Linked DNA regions of Homo sapiens: regions 2 and 3 are each linked to region 1. Evidence: promoter capture Hi-C in 16 types of primary human blood cells and fetal thymus (Javierre and others, 2016). All regions are on one chromosome and are shown on one strand. Each heading gives the region's core, a stretch centred on a gene start or on the middle of the fragment in contact. The rest is flanking DNA. Distances are from core to core; before and after follow the strand shown. Region 1 holds the start of UGGT1 (UDP-glucose glycoprotein glucosyltransferase 1). Region 2 holds the start of MZT2B (mitotic spindle organizing protein 2B). Region 3 has its middle 4.8 kb from the start of TRE-TTC1-1.

Region 1 (2,700 bases), core at 148-2,647:
AAAGAAAATTATCACATCATCTTGTATTGTTACAGGGAAACTTAGATAAAAAAAGAAAATGCTCACAGACAGCTGCAGGAAAGTTCTAAGCAAATTTTCTTCTTACTTTCATATATTCCCCTGAAGTTCAATGTGCATTATAAATGTGCTATGCTACTGTACAAAGTATTATGGTCACTTCCTTTAATAAGTTTCATGTGGCCAGGAGTTCAAGATCAGACTGGTAGGTAACAAGACCTCATCTCTACAAAATAAATAAATAAATAAATAAATAAGAATTTTTTTAAAATAAGCTTCAGCTAAGTTTATCAAAAGCAAGTCAAGTGTTGCTAAATTCGACTGGCTTAAAAAAAAAAAAAGCAAAGTGAAAAGGCTACAATTATTCCAAGTTTTGTGGTGCTGTTAAATAGCTATTTAAAATGTCTTCAAACGCCTGCAAGTGTAAGATTCTTGAAGGAAAGAGGGCACTTTACACTAAAATTGGCTGGCAAGTACATCAATGAATGTTTCCAAAACAGTTAGTGTAGCACAATAAGGCAAAAGACCCCAGGACTTCAAACGAACAAAATTGCTCCTTCTCAAATCTGGCAAGAAATGCAAAACAACTGCAGATTCTGGCCAAGGAACAAAAACAGTTCACATCTATAAGTTATTGGCGACGGACGCAGATCTCATTCTGGCAGGTCCCACGCTAAAAGTGAAACCATATCATCCAATTTCCAGCCAACAGATCACAGTGTTAAAAGAAAACAGTAACCAATACGCATCAACCCGAATTCATTTTAGGAAAAATTGAAATCTATTTTAAAAAGCACGTCGTTCTGCAATCAGGGTCCTGCAAAGTGCTGCTTCTCAACTCACTGAGGATCAAGCTTGGTCTAAATCCATGGTAGGATACCTCCCCCATTTCCTTCTGCACTTGGCACAAGGATCTAAAGCTCTTCAAAGAAGGTTCAAGACCGCTGAACAGAGCCCGCCGCCACCCCCGCGGAAGCGATACCTTGCCAAGAAGACCACTGAGGGCAACTCGGGGCGCTCGCGAATAGGGGAAGGGATAGGACACCAGAGGGTAAACTGAGTCACGGTAGAGGCGGAAGCTCAATGTGACAGGGGCACAGGGTCGCCTTGTGCCCCAAACCCTCTCTTTGTCCACGAGGCCTCCTCACGCCACCCCTGGGTACCTGTCACCGGCAGCGCACCCGCGGCACACGCACCGCTCGCGTCTCCCTTGCAGCCCATGCCCGGGCCGTGGTCAGTCCGCCACAGTGCCAGAGACAACGCCAGGGCAGGGCGGGGCGAGGCGGCAGCGGCAGTGCAGGCTGCGCCAGTGAGAGGCCGACACGCGCCTTTCCCGCGGCTCGACTCAACACCCAGCCTCGCAAAGCAATTGCCCAGCTGCCGGCCGCCCTTTTACTTCCGCTTCCTGCAGGCGAACGCTGGAGGACTTCCGGATACCGAGTCGAGACCTAGCAGCCCAGAGCGTCGCGCGGTCGCCCTCTCATCTCCGAGGGTTGGGGAGGGGGGAGTCCTGCCTCTCTCCTCACTTCCGCCTTTCAGGGTGGCGGGTAGGCTGCCGGTCTTCAAGGTCTTGGGAAGGTTCGTTGGGCCAACAGCTGAGACCCGAAAGCTTCAACAGTCAGTCGGTGAAATCCAGTTTGGACTCTGGGACTTACTCCCTTAAACCTTTGTTAAAAGCTTACTCCCTTTAGCCTTTCGGTGGCACAGTAAGGACAATTGTCTTAATGTTTCTGAGCATCTTAGACTTTATACTAAACCCTAAAATTTTGATAGCTACCTTCCAGGAGGCATGATGAAAGGAAGACTTTTTAAATTTTATGAGCCGCTTGAGCTTTCTTATTCGGACAGCGGCAGCTTAGTCTACAGGGACTACTTTGTCCTTTTAGTATTTTTTTTTTAACTAATATAAACCAGTTTAAAATTGTTTTGGAATAGGTAGCATTTAACCCACCCAAAAATGAATACCTCTTTGGAGGGTATATTTTTAAGTATATTAAGTCAAAGTGAATGAAAAGCCAAAAATATTTTTTTGGAGTTGGAGTCTCGCTCTGTCTCCCAGGCTGGAATGCAGTGGCGCGATCTCGGCTCACTGCAACCTCCGCGCCCCCGCCCGCGCCCCCCACCCCCCAACCCCCCGACCCGCATTCAAGCGATTCTCCCACCTCAGCCTCCCCAGTAGCTGGGATTACAGGCGTGCGCCACCGCGCCTGGCTAATTTTTGTATTTTTAGTAGAGACAGGGTTTCACCCTGTTGGCCAGGCTGGTCTCGAACTGCTGACCTCAGATGATCCACCCGCCTCGGCCTCCCAAGTGCTGGGATTACAGGCGTGACCCACTGCGCCCGGCCCAAAATAATTTTAATAAATAAACATGAGCCAACATGATGAAGGGGAGGAAGGAGAGGAGGATGAAGGAGATGACTAATGGAACACTGATGGAGGCCGGGCGCGGTGGCTCACGCTGAGGATGGAGGCTGAGGCAGGAGAATGGCGTGAACCCGGGAGGCGGAGGTTGCTTGCAGTGAGCAGAGATCGCATCACTGCACTCCAGCCTGGGCGAGAGAGGGAGACTCCATCTCAAAAAAAAAAAAAACAGCAACAACAACAGCAAAAAAACACTGATGGATTCCAACCTTCCTTTTTTTACATTTTCTCCAGTCCCTGGGAGCAAGTTGCAGTTTTT
Region 2 (2,700 bases), core at 126-2,625, 2.1 Mb before region 1:
CCTCACTGCCTCTCACTGGGCTCTGAGTGTGATCATCTCACTTCCCTGCCACACCCTCTGCCCTGAGAGCTAGGCCTGGCTCCCAGAGCCCTGAGTGAGTGCTGAGTGAGCAGCAACATCCCCTGGAGTGACAAGGACTCTGTTCCCAGTTTCTCCCTCCTGCTGGACACTTGCCCCTCAATTGCTCATCTCAGCCTGCAGTGCATACACCCCTACTCCAGGCCTGTCCCTCAGCCCCTCTCCACCCTCCCTTGGGTCCGAGCTCTGGGTGGCAGTGAGGTGGGCGCTGTCAGGAAGTGCACGCAGGAGGTGCAACCAAAGACCCCTGGGCTCTCACAGGACCCTGGCTCTGAGCCCCTGATCACACCTGCTGACACCTGGAAAGTGTGCTAACTCAGGAGTGAGGTGGGCAAGGGGGCTGAGTGCTGGAGTGTGGCCACGGGGCCAGCATATGGCATCTGTGTGGCACTGCCCAGGAGACTCTGGGAAGGTGGGAGTCTCTGTTTCAGCCTCCAGACTTCCTGTCCAGATAAGGGACAACTTCTAAGAGGCCGAGGTGTTTGTCACGCCTGGGGCTGTGCTCTCCAGCACAGCACACCGCACTCTGGCCGGCTGTCTTCCCTTGGAGAGGGGCTCTTTACACTCACCACAGTTCGCCTCTGGGGTGTGGGGGTGTTGGTCCTGTCCCCAGATGCCAGCCCGACTGTGGGGTCTAGAGACTGCCACACTATGTCTCTAATAAACCGAGTCAGAAATCGTGCCCTGTGGCTAAGCGGCAGGGCAGCGATGGCCTGCATGGTCCTGCCCTTGGAGCTCAAAGCTGCTTGGGCCTCCTGGGGCCAGGCAGTTTCCATGGAAACAAGGGAGAGCACCAACCCCCAGAGATAAGCCAATAAACGCAACCTGCAAAAGGAGAGAACAGGCAGCAAGAGAGGCGGAGGGAACCCGGGGGGCCTGGAGAGAGAGGCGAGTGTGTGGCAGCCGGGCTGTGGAGCAGAACCGGAGAGGCCGCAGGCTGCGGGCTGGAGGAAAAGGAGGGCCTTGCAGGGGGGCTACTGTTCCTGGCAGAGAGAAAGGAGGCCTCTGGAGGTCAGAGAGAGACACAAAGAGAGCAGACAGAGCGAAGGTCAGTGAAGAGGCCAGCACGCAGGTGCCCGGGCCCTCTTGGGTCAGCGGGTGTGGGTGCCCAGGCCCTGGCACTCCCCCCATGAAGGCAGCCTGCTCTCCACGCCTTCTCAGGATGCCTGTGCGGGTCTCCTCGTGCTTCCAGGCAGGGAGCCAGCTCTGGGCCTTCTTCCATTGGCCTAGGAGGTTGTGCTGCATTTCAGAGAGAGCCATCGGGAGCAGAAGCAACATGCGGAGAGGATGAGCAGGGACAGAGGCTCCACCATGACACTCTCAGTCCCAGAATCTCCTCAGCCCAGTCACCACACTGGAGAGGGAGGAGGCCCTTCAGACCCCGCAGGCCTCTGCACCCTGGGAGTTCCGCGTCTGACTCTCTTCCTGCAGTCATCAGAGGGAAAGCTGACCAGGACTGGCCAAGCCCCTGCGCAGGAACTGGGCCCAGGTGGGGTAAAGGCAGGAAGACCTCTGCCTGCCCTGGTCCCTGGGCACTTCCCTGGATGCTGTATACCACAGGACAGAGATCGAGACTGTCTTTTGAAAAACATTTAGAGACAGGATCTCACCCTGTCACCCAGAGTGGTCTAAAACTCATGGCCTCAAACGATCCTCCCGCCCTGGGGTCCCAAAGATTATAGGCGTGAGCCAGGGCGCCCAGCCCCAAACTGTCTTGATTCCCGACGTTGTAGGATGAAGGCCTGAGTGAAGAGGTGGAGGGGAGCTAAGCGGAGGAGCCCTACCCAGCCTGGACCACCCTGGGGTACGCACTCTGCGTCCACCTGACCTGGACGTGCCTCCTAAGGCTGGCAGCGAAGCCCAGGAGCAGAGCCCACGGATGGGCCCTGCAGGTGCTGGGCCTAGACCGACAGACAGGCCTGGCCACTCAGGGCCACGCCGCCGCTGTGCCGCGCCTGCCCCCTCCCCGCCCGCCACCCCCGCCACTGGGGCAGGGACAGCGGGCCCAGCTCTGACCTCGGGTCTCGGGCACGCTCGACGTGGGCAGAGACACGGCCGCAGGGTCCTGGGGCTCGCTCGCTAGCCTCTGCCCGGCACACATGGACTTGAGCATCTGGAAGACGGCGAGGGGGGCCACGTTCAGCTTCAGCAGGTCCACCAGGATCCTGGCGGGGACAGACGCGGGGCCGGTGAGCCCTCTCCGCCCGGCGCGGCCACCTCCCTGAAGACCCGACAAGGACGGGGGCGGGGGCTCCTCCCGACCAGCGGGCCGGGCGTACCCGGAAAGCAGAGGTCGGGGGGTGTCTGGCTAGCATGCGGCCCCCACCCGCCCCGCTCACTTGAACACGTCGGGGTCGATAGCGCCGCCCGCCGCCTGCGCCAGCTCGTACAGCTCCATCTCCTCGGTGCTCAGCACCTTCTTCCGCCGCAGCGCCAGCTTCTGCCGGGCCGCCTCCAGCCCCGGGGGCGCCGCCGACCCCGGCCCAGGCCCTACGCCCTGCGCCGCCATCCCCGCGGCCCGCGGAAAGGTGCGCTCCGCCCCGCCGCGCCCCCTAGCGGCTGCGCCCACCACCCTCTCCCTGCAGCGTCAACGTCTGGCCTCCCGGGCTGCCCTGGCGGGAG
Region 3 (2,700 bases), core at 40-2,539, 2.2 Mb before region 1:
GGCACTCCTTGAGTTGTAGCTACATCGCTCTGATCTCTGGCCCCATCCTTCACGTGGCCTTCTTCTCCATATGTATCCACGTGTCCTCTCCTTCTCCTGCAAGAACAGCAGTCACTGGATATAGAACCTACTCTAAGCTGGGTGTGGTGGCTCACGCCTATAATCCCAGCAATTTGGGAGAGCGAGGCAGGTGGATCACCTGAGGTTGGGAGTTGGAGACCAGCCTGACCAACATGGAGAAACCCCGTCTCTACCGAAAATACAAAATTACCTGGGCATGGTGGCGCATGCCTGTAATCCCAGCTACTTGGGAGGCTAAGGCAGAAGAATCACTTGAACCCAGGAGGCGGAGGTTGCTGTGGGCCGAGAGAGCGCTACTGCACTCTAGCCTGGGCAACAAAAGTGAAACTCCATCTCCAAACAAACAAAACAAAACAAAACAAACAGACAAAAAAAAAAAAAAAAAAAAAAAAACACACACAGAAAAAAGAGCCTACTCTAATCCAGTACAAATCACCTTAACTTAATTACATCTGCAAGATTCTATTCCCAAATTAAATCATCTTCTGAGGTTGTGGGTAGACACGATATTTTTTTTCTTTTTGATGGGGAGACACTGTTCAACCCAAGACAGAGCACGTGGAGGGACAAACTGCAAAAACAGTGGATTCCTATAACAAAGTTTTAAAAATGCTGCCTTGACCCACTTTTGAGGCCCTGGCTAGAGGTCAGTTTCCCTTCTTGGGCACCCGATTAAGTTCATACTTGCAACCACTGGACTCTCTCACTCTGAGCTAATCAAACCCCTCCCCACCCCATAACACGTGCTCTCTCGGGAACTGTGAGTAAAATGTTTCAGCGTCACTCATGTCTTATCTTTTCAATATCAGTCATTTCCTAATCTGAATAATGTTACCTAAATAATAATAAAACCTATTGAAGCAGCGGGCCCAGCAAGCAGGGTGGTTTGGTGGGCTACAATGACGGCCACTAGGCCGCCCTTGCTTACAGACTGGCCCCACCAGGTGGCAGCACCAGTCCGGGGCACAGCTACGTTTTGCCGTCTAACGGGTGTCTGGTGAATCTCATTCCTAAATTGTGAAACTTTGAGTCATCCAGAGTTTCTCCTAAACCAAGGTATCAAGTGCTTCGGGCAGCTCAAATTAATTGGCTACTTCTGGTTGTCAAAAAACTCCACAGAAGCGGGCAAGGAGTGAGGAGGGGGTGTGGCTCTCCTCCAGGTGCCATGGAGCCGGCTGAGTGGCTCCATGTCAGGCAACGCGGACACATGGCTGGCAACACAATCACTCTCTACGGCCCATTCCACCTTACGGCGGGAGACCGCACTGCCAGGACGGCCCAGGGCCTGGTGGCTCACGGGGTCGGTGCGCCAGCAGCCTCTTCCGGGATCCACCGCATCCCGCGAGTCCTTGATAGTATTTGTAGACTGCTGTGGTGTTGTCTGCCTTGATGCTGTCGCAGTTTGTCCCTCGAACCCCGTGCAGTACAAGGGCTCACACCCACGGAGACCGCTGGCACAGTGCTTAATAAAAAATGAAGGCCGGGCGCGGTGGCTCACACCTGTAATCCCAGCACTTTGGGAGGCCGAGGCGGGTGGATCACGAGGTCAGGAGATCGAGACCATCCTGGCCAACATGGTGAACCCCCGTCTCTACTAAAAATACAAAAAATTAGCTGGGCGTGGTGGCGGGCGCCTATAGTCCCAGTTACTCGGGAGGCTGAGGCAGGAGAATCGCTTGAATCGGGGAGGTGGAGCTTGCAGTGAGCCAAGATTGCGCCACTGCACTCCAGCCTGGGAGACAAAGCGAGACTCCGTCTCAAAAACAAAAAAAACAAAAAAACAAAAACAAAAATAAAAAATAAAAAATAAATCAAAGGGGAGGGAACACCTTCTTCCTGCCCTGTCCGAGACCCCCAACAAGGAGGTCACACAGTTGATTCCGGAATGAGAACCCCTGGACTCTGGCCTCGCAGAGCAGTGATGGTTGGGTTAGGTTGGTGAAAGTAGAAATGAAGAAATGTGGGTGAGTTCAAGAGATACTGATGTAGTGGAATTAGTGTGTCTTTGCAATGTTTTGGATGTGAGGGGTGAAAGAGCAATTAAAGCTGTTTTCCAGATTTCTGCCTCATGCAACTGTTTGTGCCTTTCACTGCAGAAACTGGAGACTAAACTGGACTGGAAGTGCGTAGTTTTTTCGTTTTTGTTTTTTGGAGATAGGATCTTGCTATGCTTTCCACGCTGGACTTGAATTCCAAGGCTGAAAGGATACCATCCTCCACCTCAGCCTCCTGAGTAGCTGGGACTACAGGTGTGTGCCCCTGTACCCAGCTTCATGAGTTTAGTTTTATACATGTTGAATTTTAGCTATCTTGGTTAAAGATTTCAAGGTAGAATATGTGGGTCTGTAGCTCAGTGGAGAGGCTGGTTATGTTGGTTATGTGTTCCATCTCGATGTTGAAGTTACTGATCCTTTCAGGGAGGTCTTGGAATGAAGAGGAATACTGAGCTAAGTGCCAGAGTCCCTAGTGAATGAAGAATTTAATTAGGGTATTTGTTAGATGGCACAACAAAGGGGGTTGGATAGAACTTTGGTTGAATGGTTTGGTCTCTTCACAGGAAGACTGCTTTCTACAAGAGGATGGGTTAGTAACGGTCTGGAAGTGGTGATGGGTACGAAG

What was found. Contacts are between HindIII fragments. The CHiCAGO score rates a contact against its expected background, and 5 or more counts as called.
Region 2: a fragment that was not itself captured here is called in contact with the fragment with the promoter of UGGT1 in region 1 in 1 of 17 cell types (fetal thymus); the score reaches 6.5 in fetal thymus.
Region 3: a contact is called between a fragment that was not itself captured here and the fragment with the promoter of UGGT1 in region 1, in 4 of 17 cell types (activated CD4 T cells, monocytes, fetal thymus and 1 more). The highest score is 6.5, in activated CD4 T cells.

The regions. Positions count from the first base shown.
Region 1 is chr2:128,089,897-128,092,596 of GRCh38, reverse strand. UGGT1 (UDP-glucose glycoprotein glucosyltransferase 1) reads right to left here and starts at 1,397. Exons shown (of 41, transcript NM_020120.4): 1 at 1,182-1,397. The coding sequence starts at 1,239. RefSeq lists an enhancer at 1,326-1,635. The HindIII fragment of the contact is 755 bases long and covers 875-1,629 here.
Region 2 is chr2:130,182,170-130,184,869 of GRCh38, reverse strand. MZT2B (mitotic spindle organizing protein 2B) reads right to left here and starts at 2,608. Exons shown (of 3, transcript NM_025029.5): 1 at 2,418-2,608; 2 at 2,095-2,243. The coding sequence starts at 2,587. RefSeq lists enhancers at 186-922, 923-1,659 and a silencer at 2,353-2,700. The HindIII fragment of the contact is 5,492 bases long and covers 1-2,700 here.
Region 3 is chr2:130,331,059-130,333,758 of GRCh38, reverse strand. No RefSeq gene overlaps it. Among named protein-coding and RNA genes, the nearest start is that of TRE-TTC1-1, 4.8 kb to the left of the region's middle. RefSeq lists an enhancer at 814-1,364. The HindIII fragment of the contact is 3,328 bases long and covers 1-2,700 here.